Linked DNA regions of Homo sapiens: regions 1, 2, 3, 4, 6 and 7 are each linked to region 5. The links are contacts of gene promoters, found by promoter capture Hi-C in blood cells and fetal thymus (Javierre and others, 2016). All regions are on one chromosome and are shown on one strand. The core of a region is centred on a gene start or on the middle of the fragment in contact, and the rest is flanking DNA. Distances in the headings are between cores, read along the strand shown. Region 1 overlaps PHKA1 (phosphorylase kinase regulatory subunit alpha 1). Region 2 overlaps PHKA1 (phosphorylase kinase regulatory subunit alpha 1). Region 3 overlaps PHKA1 (phosphorylase kinase regulatory subunit alpha 1). Region 4 has its middle 25 kb from the start of PHKA1. Region 5 holds the start of CITED1 (Cbp/p300 interacting transactivator with Glu/Asp rich carboxy-terminal domain 1). Region 6 overlaps PHKA1 (phosphorylase kinase regulatory subunit alpha 1). Region 7 holds the start of PHKA1-AS1 (PHKA1 antisense RNA 1).

Evidence for each region. The method cuts DNA at HindIII sites, captures the fragments that hold promoters and counts their contacts. A CHiCAGO score of 5 or more calls a contact.
Region 1: a contact is called between a fragment that was not itself captured here and the fragment with the promoter of CITED1 in region 5, in 1 of 17 cell types (megakaryocytes). The highest score is 5.3, in megakaryocytes.
Region 2: a contact is called between a fragment that was not itself captured here and the fragment with the promoter of CITED1 in region 5, in 2 of 17 cell types (M2 macrophages and fetal thymus). The highest score is 8.3, in M2 macrophages.
Region 3: a contact is called between a fragment that was not itself captured here and the fragment with the promoter of CITED1 in region 5, in 1 of 17 cell types (M1 macrophages). The highest score is 5.2, in M1 macrophages.
Region 4: a fragment that was not itself captured here is called in contact with the fragment with the promoter of CITED1 in region 5 in 5 of 17 cell types (M2 macrophages, M0 macrophages, endothelial precursors and 2 more); the score reaches 7.9 in M2 macrophages.
Region 6: a fragment that was not itself captured here is called in contact with the fragment with the promoter of CITED1 in region 5 in 1 of 17 cell types (monocytes); the score reaches 5.1 in monocytes.
Region 7: a contact is called between the fragment with the promoter of PHKA1-AS1 here and the fragment with the promoter of CITED1 in region 5, in 3 of 17 cell types (M0 macrophages, M2 macrophages and M1 macrophages). The highest score is 8.1, in M0 macrophages.

What each region holds. Positions count from the first base shown.
Region 1 is chrX:72,711,318-72,714,146 of GRCh38, forward strand. It overlaps PHKA1 (phosphorylase kinase regulatory subunit alpha 1), which reads right to left. Exons shown (of 32, transcript NM_002637.4): 1 at 2,486-2,829; 2 at 1,462-1,620. The coding sequence starts at 2,563. PHKA1-AS1 (PHKA1 antisense RNA 1) reads left to right here. Exons shown (of 5, transcript NR_110391.1): 5 at 640-1,031. Among named protein-coding and RNA genes, the nearest start is that of PHKA1, 1.6 kb to the right of the region's middle. RefSeq lists an enhancer at 2,293-2,829. The HindIII fragment of the contact is 497 bases long and covers 1,303-1,799 here.
Region 2 is chrX:72,636,962-72,639,953 of GRCh38, forward strand. All of the region lies in intron 14 of PHKA1 (phosphorylase kinase regulatory subunit alpha 1), which reads right to left. Among named protein-coding and RNA genes, the nearest start is that of PHKA1-AS1, 50 kb to the right of the region's middle. The HindIII fragment of the contact is 5,199 bases long and covers 1-2,992 here.
Region 3 is chrX:72,656,330-72,659,288 of GRCh38, forward strand. PHKA1 (phosphorylase kinase regulatory subunit alpha 1) reads right to left here. Exons shown (of 32, transcript NM_002637.4): 9 at 1,259-1,312. Among named protein-coding and RNA genes, the nearest start is that of PHKA1-AS1, 31 kb to the right of the region's middle. The HindIII fragment of the contact is 710 bases long and covers 970-1,679 here.
Region 4 is chrX:72,737,581-72,740,335 of GRCh38, forward strand. No RefSeq gene overlaps it. Among named protein-coding and RNA genes, the nearest start is that of PHKA1, 25 kb to the left of the region's middle. The HindIII fragment of the contact is 1,245 bases long and covers 733-1,977 here.
Region 5 is chrX:72,304,484-72,307,336 of GRCh38, forward strand. It overlaps CITED1 (Cbp/p300 interacting transactivator with Glu/Asp rich carboxy-terminal domain 1), which reads right to left and starts at 1,431. Exons shown (of 3, transcript NM_001144887.2): 1 at 1,342-1,431. It overlaps LOC105373250 (a long non-coding RNA gene), which reads left to right and starts at 1,619. Exons shown (of 3, transcript XR_938441.2): 1 at 1,619-1,737. RefSeq lists a silencer at 2,416-2,710 and an enhancer at 2,437-2,486. The HindIII fragment of the contact is 8,247 bases long and covers 1-2,853 here.
Region 6 is chrX:72,596,962-72,599,661 of GRCh38, forward strand. The region is part of intron 28 of PHKA1 (phosphorylase kinase regulatory subunit alpha 1); the gene reads right to left. Among named protein-coding and RNA genes, the nearest start is that of HDAC8, 25 kb to the left of the region's middle. The HindIII fragment of the contact is 1,875 bases long and covers 514-2,388 here.
Region 7 is chrX:72,687,664-72,690,454 of GRCh38, forward strand. PHKA1-AS1 (PHKA1 antisense RNA 1) reads left to right here and starts at 1,286. Exons shown (of 5, transcript NR_110391.1): 1 at 1,286-1,339. The region is part of intron 4 of PHKA1 (phosphorylase kinase regulatory subunit alpha 1); the gene reads right to left. The HindIII fragment of the contact is 3,854 bases long and covers 1-2,018 here.

The sequences.
Region 1 (2,829 bases), core at 301-2,800, 410 kb after region 5:
CAAAACACTGAGCTCAAACTAGAAAACGTTGAGTAGGATGTAGGATTTGGGGGAGGGGAGTGGGCAGGATTACAGGTGAATTTTTTTAAACACTCTTCTATATTTTCCAAATTTCTACAATGGTATTTTTATAAAAGTCATAAAAGGCTGGGCGCGGTGGCTCACGCCTGTAATCCTAGCGCTTTGGGAGGCCGAGGCGGGCAGATCACAAGGTCAGGAGATTGAGACCATCCTGGCTAACATGGTGAAACCCCGTCTCTACTAAAAATACAAAAAATTAGCCAGGCGTGGTGGCACGCGCATGTAGTCCCAGCTACTCGGGAGGCTGAGGCAGGAGAATCGCTTGAACACAGGAGGTGGAGGTTGCAGTGAGCTGAGATCGTGCCACTGCACTCCAGCCTGGGGACAGAGTGAGACTCCGTCTCAACAACAACAAAAAAAGTCATAAAAATAATGATCTGTACTACCTGGTGTGGAGCAAAAACTTGAATAATTTTTTTTTTTTTGGTGGACCTATGTATCTCTCAATAATGGCTTGAAAGAACAACAAATGCCTGCTGTTGCTAAGGACAACACAGTGCAACCCCACATTATATTGATACTCGTAAAATAACCAAATATCAATATTCTGATTTATAGATGAAGACTGGAGCTCAGATTGCCTAAGTCTTGGAGAGACCACTGGAGAAAATGGCTGGTATAGAGAGAATTTTTCCCACTAATGGAAATGAATGCACATGCATCTTATAACTGACAACAGAGTACTTCAACTCCCACCATAGCCCAGAATATTGTTTTCTTAATATTATTTTCTTGGTCGTTGAAGAGGATGCAGCTACCTTTGCGTCTCAACAGTTCTATAAAGGATGCTGGTTTACTGAGGGGAAGTGCCTTAAAAGTTGGCTTAAAGGCATCTGCTGACTCTGACCTCATTTTGCCCAGGAGTTGGGGGAGGGAGGAAGCAACAGGCTCTGAAACAGTGGCCACAGCTATAAAAATCAACAGATAAAGTCTTTACTGTGTCTAGTCCAGAAGGTTTGCTGATTCATGTCATTTACCCTCATACAAACACCACAATTTTTAAAAATGAAATAAAATAGTAGATACCTGCTCCCAAACATTTTCTCAATGAGAATAAATACAGTGGTGACTACAAGATAGATTAACTTAGAGAGTCATGCATTTTAGGAAAGATCCCAGGATAGGATTTTCCACTGTAACAGAACAGACTGTTCCCTCTCCCTCAAATCAGCAAGTTTCAAGTTTCCACTGCAAGAATACCACTTCAGTACAATACAGGAAAGCTTTCTGGAATATAATTTCAGAAAGATGATGAAAGAGGGAAAGGCAAAATACAGTTCTCTTAGCTTTTGGTGGGTTTCACTTCCTTCAGTCCCCACTCTGCCCCCAACCCCCAATCACACATAGCTCCAGATCTCTTTGTATTTTTATTTTGAGTACCTGCTCCAATTCATAGGCCTTTGCCTTATCCTCATCCCGGTCTGCATTCTTCCGATAGGCCAGGCCCAAACCCCACACAGCCAAGATGCTGTACACATTATCTCGGACCCAAGCATCTTTCTGATCATAGCTGGCTGGAAGCAAGCCAGTCACTGGATTCTGCAAGGTCAAGAAAAAGAGGGCAGGAAGGTAACCATAGGTGTTAACATCAGGAAACAGAATCTTCCAAATGGGTTTTTTAGGGACTTTGGTCTTTCTTCTACTTCTCCACTCTTGAGTTTTATAACCTCCTCTTCTTCTGACCTATTGCAGGCAAATGCTATCTTCCCACCTTCCCAAGCTTTACTGAGCTATATTCAACACATTAAAAATTGTGTATATTTAGGGAGTACAACATGATGATTTATGTATTCATTGGAAAATTACCAAAATGACGTTTATTAACACATCTATTACCTCACAGCTACCTTTTTTTTTGGTGTGGTGAGAATACTTAAGATCTACTCTCTTAGTAAATTTCAAGTATACAGTACAGTATGATTAACTACAGTCACCATGCTGCTGTACATCAGATCCCCAGAACTTACTCATCTTATAACTGAAACTTTGTGCCCTTTGCAAATACTATCTTGAATAAGGGGTAAGCGGTGGCTGAAGCCTTTCGAGTCTGAAATGTGGGTATTATTAAAGGCACAATTAAAGGTATTATTAAGTGCATTTATAATGGGTATTATTAAAAGAAAGTTTTACCTTTCTAGTTAGAATGAACTAGCGAACTAGCAATGAAAAACCAGCAGAAAAAATATATAATTAACAGGGGCGGGAGAACCTGCTACAGACAGATACAGATACACACACAAACACACACGCGGAGTTCATGCAAGGTCTCCGTCACACACACACACACACACACACACACACACCCACACACGCACGCACGCACGGAGTTCATCCAAGGTCTCCGTCCAAGCTATGACAAGCTACATCCTCGCTCGGTGATTACGAGAGACACCCCTGCAGTTACCTGATGGCACAGGATGGTCTGTTGCACCAGTCGAGCGTAGCCGTCCAGCCGGACCCCGGAGTTACTCCGGCTCCTCATGGCGACACGTTACTAATTGTCCTCTGAGAAATAGCCCGGGTGCCACCGGAGCCTTCGGTCCCTAAGGAACAAGTATCCAACGCTGCTCCACCCTCGTGGTGGGACGCCTGAACACCAGGCCCCGCAGAGCCCTCCCACCGCTCAGGCCTGGCGCCGCGGATTCCGCGTACCTCTCCGGACTCCGGCGGCCTCAGGGGCCCACCACGCGCCAGCGCTAGCACTGGCTTCCCGCGGTCTAGAGCCCCGCCGCAGCGCCCCAGGCGCCG
Region 2 (2,992 bases), core at 121-2,620, 330 kb after region 5:
ATGCAGTAAAGCACACATTTTACCTGAGATTGATGTCACAACCAGGTTTTCCCACTACTCCTTACTTTTTGTTTCTATTTAATACTGCAAAATATACACAACATAAAATTTACCATTTACCATTTTAATAACCTTAAGTTCAGTGGCATTAAGTACATTTACATCATTGTGCAAACATCACCACCAACTATCTCCAAAACTCTTTCATCTTCCCAGACTGAAACTCTATTTATTGAACAGTAAGTAACTTTTCATGTCCTCTGCTTCCCAGCCTCTGGCAACCACTGTTCTACTTTGTATCTCTATGAATTCGGTATCTCATATAAATGGAATAATACAATATCTTTCCTTTTGTAACTAGCTTATTTCATTTAGCATAGTCTTCAAAGTTCATCTATGTGTAGCATATGTCAGAATCTCCTTCCTTTTTAAGGCTTAATAATATTCCATTTTGGGTATACATTTTGTGTATACATTGCATATTGTTTATCCATTCATTGATGGACATTTGGGTTGTTTCCACTTTTTGGCTATTGTGGGCAATGCTGCACATTGATGTAGAAAATGTTCAAGTTCCTATTTTTACTTCTTTTGGATATATACTCAGAAGTGTAATTGCTGGATTATATAGTAATTCTATGTTTAATTTGTTTGAGGGACTGCCATACTGTTTTCCATAGGGGCTGACACATTTTACATTCCCATCCACAGTACACAAGAGTTTTCATGTCTCCACATCCTCATGTTGGCTATTCAGGGTCCCTTGAGATTCCATATAAATTTTAGAACAATTTTTCTATTTTACAGAAATCATCATTTGGGCTCTTGATAGGGCTTGCATAGAATCTGTTGATAGCTTTGGGTTGTACTGGTATCTTAACAATATTATGTCTTCTAACCCACAAAGACAGCATGTCTTTCCATTTATTTGTCTCCTCTCTATTTCTTTTAGCAATGTTTTTCCATTTTCAGTGTACAAGTCTTTCACCTCTTTGGTTAAGCCTATTCTTAAGTATTTTATTCTTTTTGATGCTATTATAAATGGAACTGTTTTCTTAATTTCCTTGTCAAATTGTTCATTTTTAGTGTATAAAAATGTAACTGACTTTTGTGTGCTGATTCTGTATCCTATAAGTTTGCTGAATTTGTTTATTAGTTCTCACAGGTTTTTTTTGTTTTTGTTTTTGTTTTTTAAATAAAACCATGTCATGTGTGAATGGAGACCATTTTAATTTTTCTTTGCCAATTTGGATGTCTTTTATATCTTTTTCTTGTCTAACTGCTCTGGCTAGAACTTCCAATGATGGCCGACTGTGATGGTGTGTGCCTGTTGTCCCAGAGACTAAGGTGGGAGGATCCCTTGAGCGCAAGAGTTTGTGACCAGCCTGGGCAACACAGTGAGAGCTTCTCTCAAAAAAAAAAAAAAAAAAGCTATGTTGAATAGAAGTCTGGGTGTCTGTTTTATTTTTTTCTTTTGTCTTTTATTAATTTTATTAATTTACCAATTAATAACAAGTCATGGTTTTCTAAGTCATGTCTTCTTTTTTCAATGCTGAATACGGTGTATAAAGAATTGTAGAGGCTCTGGATGACATTATTTCCCTCCAGAGAAGATTCAGTTTATTTTAGTAGGCAGATACAGTATAAGCAGATCTTCTTAGCCCAATCAGGAATTAAGAAGATTGTGTTTTAGGATTTGTATTTGAGGCTTTCTAAGAACTCGTCTATTTATGGTTTTTCCTTACTCCTAAGGTGTAGTCCATTCTTTAGGGGTTTCAACTGAAAGCCCAAGGTGTTTATCACAGCCCCTTCCACATAGGAAGGTCCTGAAATGCAATTTTTGTCTCCGTAGAACAGTGAGACTTCCTGCTTAGTTTCTTGGCCCCTTACTTCATGCAAGCAAAACTTAAGAATCAGCAAATGCCTCAAAGGTAAACTGCACAGAGAATAGTGAGTTTATTCTTTGAGTGTCCCTTCTGTCCAAGGTTTTAGTTTCTCAAGTTCTGGCTGTTGTAATTACTCTCTGAAGCCTTCACTCACCTTCATTTTTAAAATTCAGCCATTCCAGTTATTGTTAGTATGACAGCCCAATACAAGCTATTTCATCACAGCTGGAAGCTGAAAGTCTACCTTTTTAGCTATGATACAATATACATAATTCTACCATTCTTGTTTATACACATTATAGTACTTCTAATTGTTGTTTTGCCACCACAGATTATAATGTAGTGAACATCCTTGAATATATGCCCTTGTGTACTTGTACGAATGTTATATAGGATAGATTCTGGGCTGGGTGCAGTGGTTCACGCCTGTAATTCCAGCACTTTGGGAAGGAGGCCAAGGTGGGCAGATCACAAGGTCAGGAGTTCGAGACCAGCCTGGCCAACATGGTGAAACCCCGTCTCTACTAAAAATACAAAAATTAGCCAGGCATGGTGGCAGGCACCTGTAATCCCAGCTACTTGGAAGGCTGAGGCAGGAGAATCAGCTGAACCTGGGAGGCGGTGGTTGCAGTGAGCCGAGATCGCGCCACTGCACTCCAGCCAGCCTGGGCAACAAGAGCAAGACTCCATCTTGGGGGGAGAAAAAGAAAAAGAAAAGGGTAGATTCCTAGAAGTAAGGTTGTTGGTCAAAGACATGTGCATTACATTTTTTTATAGGTAATGCCTACCTGCCTCTAATTTACACTACCAGGAGTGCTGAGAGTGTCCACATCTCCACATATTCATCAGCACTGGATATTGGCAATCTTACCTTTTTTTTGTAAAATTGATGGGCAAAAAATTACATAGCACTATTCTTTTATCTTACATTTTCACAATCATTGGTGAGGTTGAAACTATGATAACTTAAAAAATATAGTACTAGGAAAGAAGAAACAGTGATCAGCAGCACCAAAAAGTAAGATTAAAAGTATCCACACATGTGAGTGAGTATATGCATGTACAGTAAATTATAAAGGTGGAACTTCAAAACAACCTATATATGA
Region 3 (2,959 bases), core at 75-2,574, 350 kb after region 5:
CTGATTGTTTTAGAGAAGGTGTTCAGGAAGCAGAGCATGTACATACTCCCTTCCCTTAGCAAGTACTCTATGATGCGACTTCTAACTAGCGGAATTGGGATAGCAATGATATCACAAGAGGGTGTATGAAGAAATAAGATTGGTTTGCAATAAAGTTCAGTTTGGTTTTATATTTGTTAAGTTTTTTGTAATAATAGGACATACAAGTAGAAATGTTTAGAAGGGCAACTAGAGATGAGGGTTTGGGAATCATTTTCCTAGAGGTGACATATGAAGTACAAGTTACAGATGAGCTTTGTGAAATAGCACTAAATGAAATGAGCAAACTGCTCAAGAATGGAATCTTGGTAAACCCTCAGAGTGGGGCAAGGGAATAACAGAAAGAGAAGAATCAGGATAATCTAGTGGGAAAATTAAAATAGGAAAAGAATTTCAAGAGAATTTAGGGCTAGGTAAAAAGTGAGGTACCATAGAGAAGTCAAGGAGAATAAGGATTCAGAAAAGGCTATTGGATTGGTCATTTAAGAGCTTATGATGATGTTTCAGAACATATAATTTTAGTACACTGATAGGGGAAGAAGTCAAATTCAAGGCTAAAAAATAAAGTGGAAGAGGAAGTAGACCAGAAGAGTTTGAGCTCGATGATTTAAAAAAATCCATAATGTCTCTCAAACATCAAATCTAAGCTTTAAACAATGTTTCCATTACCAGTGAAAGTGCTTCATATTGACTGTTCAATCCCTTTAATGATACTGAATTTTTCTCATTGATATTTCCAAGGTGAACTTTTGACTAGTTGAATAAAGGGAACGTAAACTTTTCAAAATCAAGTACTGTTTAGAACTAACCAACTACAAGAGGTGGAATGTGGGGCCAGAAAGATCTACTGATGGAAAGATTTTTCCCTTTGTAATTGTTAAATATTTTGGGAGAGATACTTTGAGACAATGCAAATACTATTTCTGTATAAGCTTTCATCCACTGATTTTACCATGTATCTGTAGTTCTTTCCCGAAACTAACCAATGCAAGAGGTGGAAGGACTACACCTTCCTCTATTTTACTTAATCCAGAAAGGCCTACAAACTGAGAACTTGGCAGCTAAGCCAAGTTCAACAAATATAGCAAACATCAGTTATCATTATCCTACTTAGTGATCTCTATAAGTACCATCAGTGAGGTAAATATTTTCTCTGAATGAGGCTGCAGGTAGAAGTGGCCATTCTACCTTGGATTCATTTTGGAGAAAAGAAACCTACCTCTTTAGGAGTTTTATATCCATCTCGTAGAAAGCGACAGCAACCATAACGACCCTGGGAATACAAAGAAAAAAGGTCAGCAGCTTGTACACTGGTACGGCCATGTAATTAATCAGAAATACATCCTTGCAACATCTATATGTACCACCAACCTATCACCGATAAAGGCATAATGCTTAAAACCAAAAAACCTATAATAATATAATAATGCTTAAAACCAAAAAATCAATCCAGCAGCAGAAACAGATTTCAGCAATGTGATTTCAAGTGAAGGCAAAGTGACAGGCTCTTCACTAAAGCAGTGTTCCTAACAGTATCCTCTCCATGGCTATCCACCTAGGGTAAGTCTGACAGCATAATTACTAATCTATGTGGTCCTGTTCATAAGACACATACAGCTCATAAGTCATAAGACTCCATAAGCTTTTTAAAAAAACACATATTTTTTACATTTTGAGATAATTTTAGATTTACAGAAGAGTTGCAAAAACAGTACAGAGAATCCCAGTATTCCTGTCAACCACCATTCCGTTATAGTCACATCTTATATAACCATAGAAATCTGCCAAAACTAAAAAATTAACCTTGGTGGCTGGGTGTAGTGGCTCATGCCTGTAACCCCAGCACTTTGGGAGGCTGAGGCGGGAGGCACCTGAGGTCAGGAGTTCGAGACCAGCCTGGCCAATGTGGTGAAACCTTGTCTTTACAAAAAAATACAAAAATTAGCCAGGCGTGGTGGCACGTGACCGTAGTCCCAGTTATTCAAGAGGCTGAGGTGGGAGAATCGCTTGAACCTGGGAGACACAGGTTGCAGTGAGCCGAGATCCTGCCACTGCACTCCAGCCTGGGTGACAAAGTGAGACTTTGTTTCAAAAAAAAAAAAAAAAAAAACTTTGGTACGATACTATTAACCAAAGCCCATAACTTATTTGGATTTCATCAGTTGTCCTTTTTTCTGTTCTAGGACCCAATTCAGGATCCCATATTGCATTCAGTCATCATGTCTCCTTAGTGTCCTCCAATCTATGACAGTTCCTCAGTCCTTCCTTGTTTTTAATGACCTTGACACTTCTGAAGAGTGTTCATCAGTTATTTTGTAGAATGCCCCTCGATTTGGTTTTGTTTGATGTTTTCTCATGATCAGAGTACGGTTATGCATATTGGGAAGGATACCACAGAAGTGATGTGCCCTTCTCAGTGCATTGTATGAGAGAGTACATGATGTCAATGTGTCCTATTACTGGTGATGTTAACCCTGATCACTTGGTTAAAGTGGTGTCTGCTGAATTTCTCCACTGTAATTTTCCATTTGTAACTATTAAATATTTTGGGGGAGATACTGTGAGACTATTCGAACACCTTCGTTATGCTTAAGCTTTTGTCTACTGGTTTTAGCATCCATCAGTAGATTTCTCCTGAAATAATTGTTATTCTTGTGTTTGTCTAATGGCAATTTTGTATTTCCTTTATTCCTTTAGCATTTATTAATTGACATTCTCCTATTAGGGAGATCTGTCTTCTTTCCTATTTATTCATTTTTCAGTTATTTATTTATATCAGTATGGACTTATGGACATTTCATTTATTCTCTGGGTTATAATCCAATACTATGATAGTTATTTTATTGTTCAAATTTTTTCTGCTTTGGCCATTAGAAGCACTTTTCAGATGGTTCCTGTGTTCCTTTGACATGTTCCATAC
Region 4 (2,755 bases), core at 105-2,604, 430 kb after region 5:
TCTCCAGGAATGGCTCATAGTGGCATATCATACACGTTGAATGGATACATTTATGAATAAATGACTCCTTGCCTGGAAGAAGGGTAATTCCACTTCCTTGATATTGTGGTCCTCTATTTTAGAGCTGTGTCTTACTCTAAGCAAGCTCAATATATAAGATATATTAAAACTCAGCTTTACTCAAAAGATGTAATTGTTTGCTTTGAAACTGTAAAGTAGTTAATTTACAAAATTCTTCACGGGAGGATTCTTTTTTTCTAAATAGCAATGGCCTTTAGTGCAGAAGAACAGAAGGTTGCCATAATAAGACCAAACCATCCTCCCTTCATCCCAAGATTGGTGCTTGGCAGAGGCATGAATGTTAGCATGTCTGAAGGTAAGTTTGTCTGCCTGATGTCATCCTCAAAATGCTAGAAATGCAGGCAACCCCTACCTCAACATCCCAGTTTCTGGTAATAACATGTTATGAAGAAGGGGAAGGTAACTAAAATTTACTTAGATTCTATTATGTACTAGATATGTTCCACATGTTAGTCTTATTTAATCCTGAAAAATAACTCTTGGAGGAAGACAATGCTGTTGCTATCTTATCAATGAGGTTGCTAAGCTCAGAGTGGTACATTGCCTATGATCACACAGAACCAAATAAAGGCAAACTATAGACTTAATATTAAGTGTGTTTGTCCCAGTCAATTCCTATATTTCAGACTCACTATTCAAACAGTGTTGTCAAGCTTGAGGTATGACCTAAAGCAGCACAGTGTTGAGAGTCCTGTTCTAGACATAGATTGGTCAGTAAGATAGGAACATAAATGTAGGCCGAAGATTTTCACCGGGATGGGTGGATTGGAAGGAAGTTATTGGTGAGAAATATTCAGTATGCTGGCAGAGTGGGAAAGAAAGGTTGTGAGGGTAAAGTTGTAACCCAAGAAGCAGAGGTGGGAGACAGGAAATGTAGCAGCCGCCTCAGAGGCAGCTGTCATGATGGTACTTAAAGAAGATTGCTGCCAAGTGTTATTTATGAATTGTGGCTTAGGGTTTCCCAGTGCCGTCCTGGGTTTTGTGATGTTCTAAAAGACAGCAGTAAGGGAGGTGCGGGGCATGGATTGTTCCTCCTGTAGTCCTGGATTTTTTTTTCTGTTTCCCTTTTGGAAGATTTTTAATTTCTAAAAAATTTTGTAGAGACAGCGTTTTGCTATGTTGTCCAGGCTGGTCTCAAACCCCTGGCCTCAAGTGATCCTCCCGCCTCAGCATCCCAAGTACATGGGATTACAGGCATGAACTACTGCATCAGGCCTTGGAAAATGTTATTGTAGTAAAATATATGTAGCATAGAATTTGCAATCTTAACCCTTTTTAAGTGTACAATTCAGTGGCATTAATTACATTGGCAACATTGTGACACCATCACCACTACTTCCAAACGTTAAATGGAAACTCTGTACCCATTGGTCAATAACCCTCCATTCCCTCCTCCCTTTAGCCCCTGATAACCTCTAATCTACTTGATGTCTCTATGAATTTTCCTATTCTAGGTATTTCATATAAGTGGAACCATACAATATTTTTCCTTTTGTGTCTGGCTTATTTCACTTAGTAAGTTTTTCAGGTTCATCCATGTTGTAGCACATATCAGAACTTCATTTCTTTCCACAGCTGAATAATATTCCATTGCATACACATGCTGTATTTCATTTGTCCATTAAACTGCTGATGGACCCTTTGGTTGTTTCCAACTCTTGGCTATAGTGCATACTGTTGCAATGAACATTAGCATGAAACTGACTGTCTCAGATTCTATTTTCAATTATTTTGGGTATATTTCCCTAGGAGTGGAATTGCTAGGTCATAAGGCATCCTATGTTTAACTCTTAAAATTTATTTCTAATTGATATAATAGCCATGTATGTTTATGTGGTACAATATAACGTTTTGATCTTTGTATACATTATGAAAAGAGCTCTTTGAGGGACCGCAAGCTTTTCCACAGAGGTGCACCATTTTACATTCCCATCTGCAATGTGCAAGAATTTCAACTTCTTTACATCCTTACCAATGCTTCTTATTTGCTTCAAGAAAAGTTTTTTTTTTAATTATAGATGTGTATGTAAAGTGTTAATGGTGGTATCTCATTGTAGTTTCCATTTGCATTTCTCTGATGACTAATGATATTGAGCATCATCTCATGGGCTTAGTGGGAGAAATGTCTCTTAAGTCATTTGCTCATTTAAAAAATTAATTAGGTTGCTTTTCTTTTTTGTGTTGAGCTATAGGAATTCTTTACATATTCTGAATAGTAAACCATTGTCAGATACGTAATTTGCAACTATTTTCTATCATTCTATAGAATGTTTTCTTTTTTTACTTTATACTGTTCTTTATGCATGAGCATTTTCAATTTTGATGAAATCTAATTGATCTATCATTTTTCTTTTGTTGCTCATGATTTTGGTGTCATATCTAAGAATCCATTGCCTAATCCAAGGGTATAAAAGTTTACCGCTGTGTTTTCTTTAAAGAGTTTTTTGTTATTAGCATTTGTATTTAAGTCATTGACTGATTTTGGGTAATTTTTTTGTATACAGGATGAAGTAGAGGCCCAAATTCATTCTTTTCAATGTAATTCTGGCTTCGTAGAATGATTCAAGAAGTATGTGATCCTGTTTACATACTTCTATATAATTCCATATGGTTTCATATAGGGATTCATTAGTGAAACCATCTATGATTGAGGTTTTCTTTCTTTCTTAAGAAA
Region 5 (2,853 bases), core at 181-2,680:
GTCTTCAAGAGCCCTAGCACAATCAGTATCAGACAATTTTCCTGTCCTAAGAAAAATGTCTGGGGGCCCTGTCCATCTTTTCCTGTTCCTATCCAGCCTTCCCTCTCCTTTTTGCCGCTTGGTACCCGAATGTACAAAACGAAGAAAAAACAACAGGAGCAGCAGCAACAACAGCAAAACCAAAAGAGAAACATTAGAAAAATCAAAAGAGAGAACGAGCAAAAAAACTCTCTCTATTCTGATATCAGTTCGTGGGGGAAGACCATTTTACCGCGCCTCCCTCTTCAATCTGGGAGCTCCCCCAGAAGAGGCCCTGTGTCCATTCAGATCTTCTGCCTTCCATTACTGACCCACCACCCACCCTGACCCCAGCCTGGGTCTGCGCTCAATAGGCGCTCAGTAAGTGTTGTTGAATGCGTCTGAAGAAGCAATCGCATTTCCATCGGCATCCCTGGCTCTGCTTCCCCGGCTTTCTGCCCTCCTCCACCACCCTCTAGCCCGTTCGTGGGCAAAACTTGGCAACGCGGAAACGTCCCAGCCCGCTCTCCAAGCCGCGAGCTGACCACTGCGAAACGGCTGCGACAGGCGGCTGGGAAACCTAGAGCAACAAGTGCCTTCTCGCCGGCTGATGCCTGGCGGCCCCCCGGCCACCAGTTCCCAGTCCCGCTGCCCGCTCTTCGCTTCAGGCCTTCCCTTGGGCGAGCAGCCCCCTCCCGCCTAGACAGGGGTGGGAAGGGGAGAGGGAAAAGAGAAGGGAGAGGCAGGTGGGGGCCTCATCTTTAACCTGTTGGGGGACCAAAAGTTAAAATGGCACCAACCGGATGGTTCCATCTCGATTGCTATTTTCTCACTCAGAAGGAGAAATTTAAAAATCCAAACAGCACTGCGGCTTGGCTTGGACGCGCTCTAACCAGACCAGTCAGTTTCGCCACCTGAAAACTAAAGGCCCGTTGTTTGCGGACAGCTCGGCTGCCCTCCTCGCCGCATCCCAGATGGAGCCGCGGAACCGGGGGCGGCCGGGAGCATCCCTTGCACGGCGGGCGCGTGCACCCAGGCCACCGGGGCCCTGAGCGTCCGTTCCCGCAAGTGCTGTATCAGGAACTGATCTTAGAGACAGGATGGACAGGCAGGAAGGGGCACGGGGTGTCGGCCTCCGCGGCGAGTCCGCACTCCGGCGCCGGCTGCTGCCACTCTCGCGCCTGATCAACACTTACTGAGCGCCCGCTGAGCATCCGACGCGGCAGCAGGCTGAGCCTACCCCCTAGCCAAGCCGCCTGCGGTCAGTGCTAAAACCCCGCTAGGAGAAGAGTGAGAGAGGCTCGGAGAGGTGCGGTAACTTGCCCAAGGTCACAGCGCTAGAAAGTGGCGGAGCCGGGATTCGCAGCCAGGTCTCTCTGACTCCAAGTCCGGTGCTCTGCGAAGCAGGGACTCGGCGCGCGGCTCGCCAGCCCGCGTTTATAGGGAGAGGGGTGTGCGCGTGGGTGTGTGTGTGTGGGCGTGTGTCGGGGGAGGGGAGGGCTGAGGTCGACTGGGCAGTAGAGGCAAGTTGCCCAAATTCGCTAACTTCCATCCCGCAATTCCGCTGAACTCGGCCCGAAAAGCCCCCTCTTGCCTCAATTCCCCGAAGTAAATCTGAGCTTTGTGCAGCTCCGGAGCCAGAGCGTCCAGATGCGGTCCGGGAGATTAGCAAAGTCGGTGGAAGCCAAGCTGGAGAAAGCGCGGGCGCAGGGAGAAAAGGTGCTGCCGTCTCCCCGGGAGAAGCGGGCACCCGGCCCCGCTGGCCGGCAGGGGGGCGCGCTGGCAAGCGAACCCGAGCGCTGGCGGGCGGGCGGGCGGGCGGCCCCTCGCCCCCAGCAGAGCAGCTTTCCAACAGAAAGCAAGTCTCCCCAGAACCCTCCGGCCCGCCTGGCGGCCGCCCACTCCCCATACCCGCTCCACGGGAGTCCTCGGCCCCGCCGCCCAGCCCGGCGCCCAGCCCGGCGGCCCGGCTTACCTCTGAGAAGCCGCCTGCCCTGGAGAGAGGGAAGCGCGGAGCTCGGTGAGCCGCAAGAGAGGCGGCGGAGCCCCCAGCCCCTGGCACGCACGCCGCCGCCACCGCTACCGCGAACCGGTCGCGCTCAGCGCCCGCGGCCGCGCCGTTGGCCACCCGACCCCGGGGCGCCTGGGAAAAGCCCGCACCGCGCCGCGCCGCCGCTGCACCGCACAGTGCCGCGCCAAGCAGCCCCTGACCGAGCTGGTGCCCGCCCGCCCGCCCGCAGCTTCGGCGCCGGACTCCGGGGCGGTGGCGGTGGCGGCCACCGCGCTCCCTTCCCGGCGCTGGGGACCCGGCTCTCAAGCCCCCATTGCCGCCCGGAGAGCCCTGACGCACACGCACACGGCAGCAGACTGGCCTCGGCTAGGAATCCCAGGAAGGACAGACCCTTTTTTTCCCTTTTTTTTTCTCCCCTCAATTTCCACGTCTTTATAACCGGCTTAGGGCATTATTAGCACATGTCCTGGCTCGTGGGCGAGTTGGTGGCAAAATCTGAACTGGATACTCACGGAGGGCCCGCGCGGGTGCTGTGCCGTCCGCTGCTCTCTTCCTCCTCACCGAGAACTGCCCCTCGCCGGCGGACTACAAGAGGGCAGCCGGGCAGAGCGAGCTTCCTCTCGGCAGCTCAGCGGTGCCCCTTCTGCAGCTTTGCCGCCGGGCACATTTTTATAGCAGCGGCTGGCGTCTGTGGCCCTTTAAAGGCGCTCGAGCTGGTGCAGTCACCGCGGATCGTGTGAAAGCAAAGGGCCGGCTGGGGAACGGAGTCCACGCGGCCACGCGAGTCCGGCAGCCCTGTGGACCGGCCAAGGCTCCCGGGGTGG
Region 6 (2,700 bases), core at 201-2,700, 290 kb after region 5:
ATTTTGGTCAATTAATTTTCAACAAGGACGCCAAGATAATTAAATGAGGGAAAAATAGCCTTTTCAACAAATGGTGCTGGAACAGTGACATCCACATGCAAAAGAATGAAGTTGAACTCTACCTTATACCACACACAAAAATTAAGCCCATTGTGCAGAAAAGAGTTAAGACAGTAGGCCAGAACTGCTATTCTTGGAAAGGCTTGCTTACAAGGTTGGCCCTTGGCTGGCATTTAGAAACTTAGAAACTTGGATTCTGGGAGAGTTCTCACCATTCCCAGAACTAATAACAGTGGCTTACCATGCCTAAACTGTACAAACGCTATGGTTTATGTTGAACGTTTGCTTTCTTTCTGGGAGTCCAGAGTTTTGATACACGCCAGACAGAGGCTGTTTACGTGACCAGCCCTCAACAAGAACAATGGGTGCTGAGTCTTTATTAGGTTCCTTGGTTGGCAATGACATCTTGTCACAACTCATTGCAGGGTGACTCTACTGACAGAGTACTCTGGAAGCTTGTGTCTGTTTTCCCTAGACTTTGACCAATGACTCTTTTAAATTTTTTTTAACTTTTGTAGGTACATAGTAGGTTTATATATTTATGAGGTATATGAGACATTTTGTTACAGGCATACAATGCATAATAACCACATCAGGGTAAATGGGGTATCCATTATCTCAAGCAATTATCCTTCCTTTGTGTTACAAACAATCCAATTATACTTTTTATTATTTTAAAATGTACAATAAATTATTGTTGACTGTAGTTACACTGTGCCCAATGCATCTTGTACCCTTTAGGTGTAATAAACCGTAGCAGTGAGTATGACTATATGCTGAGATCTATGAGTCTTCCTAGTGAATCATTAAATCTGAGGGTGATCTTGGGGATCCCTCCATACATAATCATAGACCTAAATAAAACAGCTAACTCTATAAAACCCTTAGAACACAAATAGGAATAAATCTTTGTGACCTTGGGTTAGGCAAAGCCTTCTTAGATATGACACCAAAAACATCATGATTAACAAAAGAAAAAATAGACAAATTGGACTTTGTGGAAATCAAAAATTTTTGTTGTTTGAAGAATACTTAATGGTATTGAGTGAAAAGACAACCCACAGGATGGGAGAAATATTTGCAAATTTTATATCTTAAAAGGGACTTGTATCCAGAATATATAAAGAATCCTTGCAACTCAACAATAAAAAGACAAAAAAAATTAAAATAGGTACAAATGTGAATTGACATTTCTCTAAAGAAGATAAACAAATGGCCATTGGGCACATGAAAAGACACTCAGTATCATTAGCTATTAGGGCAATGCAAATCAAAACCACTACGAGATACCAGTTCACACCCATCAGGATGGCTATAATAAAAAAGACAATTGTAAGGGTTGGTGAAGATGTAAAGAAATTGGAACTCTCATACTCTGCTGGTGGGAATGTAAAATGGTGCAGCCCTTTTGGACATGTCTGGCAGTTCTTCAGAATGCGACACATAGTTACCATATGACCCAGGACTTCCACTCCTAGATATATATCCAAGAGAAGTGAAAACATATGTCCATACAAAAACTTGTGCATGAAGGTTCATTGTAGAATTATTCATAGCAGCCAAAAAGTGGAAACAATCCAGGTGTCCATCAACTGATGAATGGATAAATAAAATGTGGTACATTAATTTAGTAGGATATTATTCAGCAATGAAAAAAATAAACTTTTGATACATGCTAAAACATAATGAACTTTGAAAAACTTATACTAAGTAAAGGATAAAATACATTGGGCAAAGTGGTTAACAGTTTAAATTCAGAAATAAATATAAGATAGAAGATAATAGAAATATTTTCTGAGAAAATAACTTCTCACGTTTTAATTTGGGCCAAATGCCTAAATCACCAACCAATGCAATGTAAAAAAGAAAAGAGCCCCCAAACATTTCTACTGGCAAGTGACTATCGCACTGATCTATTGAGTAGATGAACTGCCATTTAATTATCTTCATTGTCTTGTTTATACCACCAAGATCCTAGGCTGTTGATTGTGAGGTCAAACCAGAAAGGGTATAGATCTGATAAAGTACAATTCAGACTGTTTTCCAAAGCCAAATATCAATCATTTTGAGTTTTTAAATTTTCTTCTATACCCCTGTCCTATGTTAGTGTGGATATGATAGAGTTGGCCAAGTCTTATTAGTTCATTACAGGGTATTTGATTTAGGTTAACCTAAATACTAATATTGTTTCGAATAATTTTCCATTTTTTGTTTGGTAATTGTCTAGCCTAAATCTCTTCAGCTTGAGAAATCTGAAATCATAGGCCATTATGAGTCTTTGATTTAAACCAAATAAATTTAATTAGAGGTCAGTCCTCCTAAATTGTAAGCTTCACGAGGGCAAAGACCACATCCATTTTGTTCACAGTGCCTGGCACAAAACTGGCACTCAATTAATATTTACTAAATGAATTCATAATCAGAAGAAAAGCTAACCCAGTGGCTTTCAAACTTAAAAATGCATCAGAATCATCTAAATAAAACAGATTACTGGGCCTCATCCGCAGTCTTTCTGACTCTGTGTACTTAGGGTGGGACCAAGAATTTATACTTAACCAATACTTAGCAAATTGAATTTTGTTTTCTGAAATCGCAAAGAGGTTGGAGTTGAACTCCCTTCCCTATGTTATTGGAAAATAA
Region 7 (2,791 bases), core at 36-2,535, 380 kb after region 5:
GTGTATTTGCTCAGCATTAAACTTTAAAAAAAACTTCTTTCTCTATTATTGATATTTTAACAAATATTAAGGAAATTAGTCCGTTGCACATCATATGTGTTGCAAGTATTTTTGCTAGTTTGTTGGAATTTGGACTTGTTTATAGTATTTTTTTATTATCAGAAACTTTTTTTTTTTTTTTGAGACAGAGTCTCGCTCTGTTGCCCAGGCTGGAGTGCTGTGGCATGATCCTGGCTTACTGCAACCTCTGCCTCCTAGGTTCATGTGATTCTCCTGTCTCAGCCTCCTGAGTAGCTGGGATTACAGGCACCCACCACCATGCCCGGCTAATTTTTTTGTATGTTTAGTAAAGAAGGGGTTTCACCATGTTGGCCAGGCTGGTCTTGAACTCCTGACCTTGTGATCCGCCCGCCTAAGCCTCCCAAAGTGCTGGGATTACAGGTTTGAGCCACTGCGCCTGGCCACATCTAAATCTTTGATCTATTAACATATATTTTAAATCATGGAACTGTGTAACTTTATAATTAAAAAGAACTATATGATTGGTATTATCAGATTGCAAACTCCTCCTGATCCATGGCTCTGTCAAAATAGCATCCATAGCACAGGGAAGCTGCAGAAGCAAAGTGGCAAAGTGTGTTTTTTCTTGCAATCGTAATGACACTAACTTCTTGGAAAGACGCCGGTAAAGAGAAGAGATGATAGTGACATGGGACATCAGCTTCATAGCTTTATCTTGTCATCTTTGTGTGACAATGCGATTGAGCAGAGACAGAGAAGGCAAAAGTATGAAACTGGTATTATTCATCTGTTAGACTTGCATCACAGCTATATCATACAAATGCCAGACATTTCTACCATTTATGTCCTTTTGCTTGTTATATTCTCCATTTAAATGGCCTTCTTCTCTCCAGATCTTGAAATCCTACTGTTCTTTCAAGGCTCAGCTCAAATGCTATGTCCTCTGTGATGCTATCATTGATTCTCCTATTTTGTGATTCACAGAATTTTGTTTTTCTTACTTTTATGAACTTATTTTTTTACTCTGTATTATAGACAAATGTGTACTTGAATTTTAAGGAAAGAACTACATCTTATTTATATCTGCATCTTCTAAAATTATCTCACATAGCCACTAAAAGTATCTCACGTAGTATTCTGAACGGTATTAAATAGCATTGAACAGTAGATGTTTGAAAATTTATTAAGTGATTTTAAACACCTCTGTTAACCACAGGAAAGGGATCAGCCTCTTGAGGAAAGGTCATAAATGGAGGACCTCTGGATCCTGTGCCTCCTGTAGAGCCCAGACACTGCTTGTCGAACAAAGAATGCAGAGGTGAGTACACATAAAATGAGATAGGGCTGGATTAGACCAAAGGTGACTATATAAAGAATACTAAGGCATACAGGGCTCCAGAAATGGAGCTAAATCAGTGGTCTATTGCACTTATATTCTGCACTCATCTGTATAACATTAAGCCTCTTTCTCTCATTTTTAGAAACAACCTTATTGAGATATGTAAAAAGCATGCATAAGAAGTATATATTCAACGGTTTTTAGTGTATGCACAGTTATGCGACCATCACCACAATCAATTTTAGAACACTGTCATCACTCCAAAAGAAACCTTGTGCCCCTTAGCAGTCACTCCCCACTTCCCTTCTACAGTTGCCCCCCAGCCTAAGTAATCACTAATCTACTTCTTGTCTCTATGATTTGCCTTAGTTGACATTCATATAAATGGAATCATACAATATGTGGCCTTTTATGTCTGGGTTCTTTCACTTAGCATAATATTTTCAAGGTTTGTCAGTGTTGTGGCATGTACCTGTAATTCATTTTTTATTGCCCAAAATATTCCATCTTGAGAGGTAGCAGTAACATGAAAAAAAATTTAAAAATTCCATTGTGCAGATGTATCATATTTTATTTATCCAATTATCAGTTGATAAACATTTGGGTTATTTTCATTTATGGCTATCATAAGTAATGCTGCTATAAACATTAATGTATAAGCTTTTGAGTGAACATATGTTTTCATTTCTCTTGGGTATATATATACTTAGGAGTGAAACTGCTAGATCATATGGTATCTCTTTTTTAAGCCTTTTAAGGAACTACCAGACTCTTTTCCAAGGCAGCCGCACCATTTTACATTTCCACCAGCAGTGTATGAGGGTTCCAATTTCTCCACATCCTCAGCAACACTTATTATCTGTCTTTTTGATTACAGTCATCCTGATGGGTGTGAAGTGGTATCTCATTGTGGTTTGGACCTATATTTCTTTCAAAATTAATGATGTTCACTATCCTTTCATGTACTTATTGGTTATCTGAACATCTTTTTGGAGGAATGTCAATTCTGATTCTTTGACCATTTTTAATTAGGTTATTTATCTTTTATATTAAGTTCTGCGAGTTCTTTTAGATACAGGTACCTTATCAGATATATGACTTGTGAATATTTTCTTCTATACTATTGGTTGCTTTTTTAGTTTCTTGATGGGGTCCTTTGAAGCACAAAAGTTCTTAATTTTGATACATTCCAGTTTATCTATTTTTTCTTCAGTAGCTTATGCTTTTCGTGCCATATCTAAGAGGCTTTTTCTTAACCCAAGGCCAGAAACATTTACTCCTGTATTTTTCTCTAAGTGTTTGTTATGTATTGAATTGTGTCCTCCCCCCAAAAATTTGTATATTGAAGCCCTAACCCCTAATATGACTATATTTGGAGATAGGGACTTCAAGGAGATAATTAAGAAGATAAATGAGGTCATGAGGGTGGCC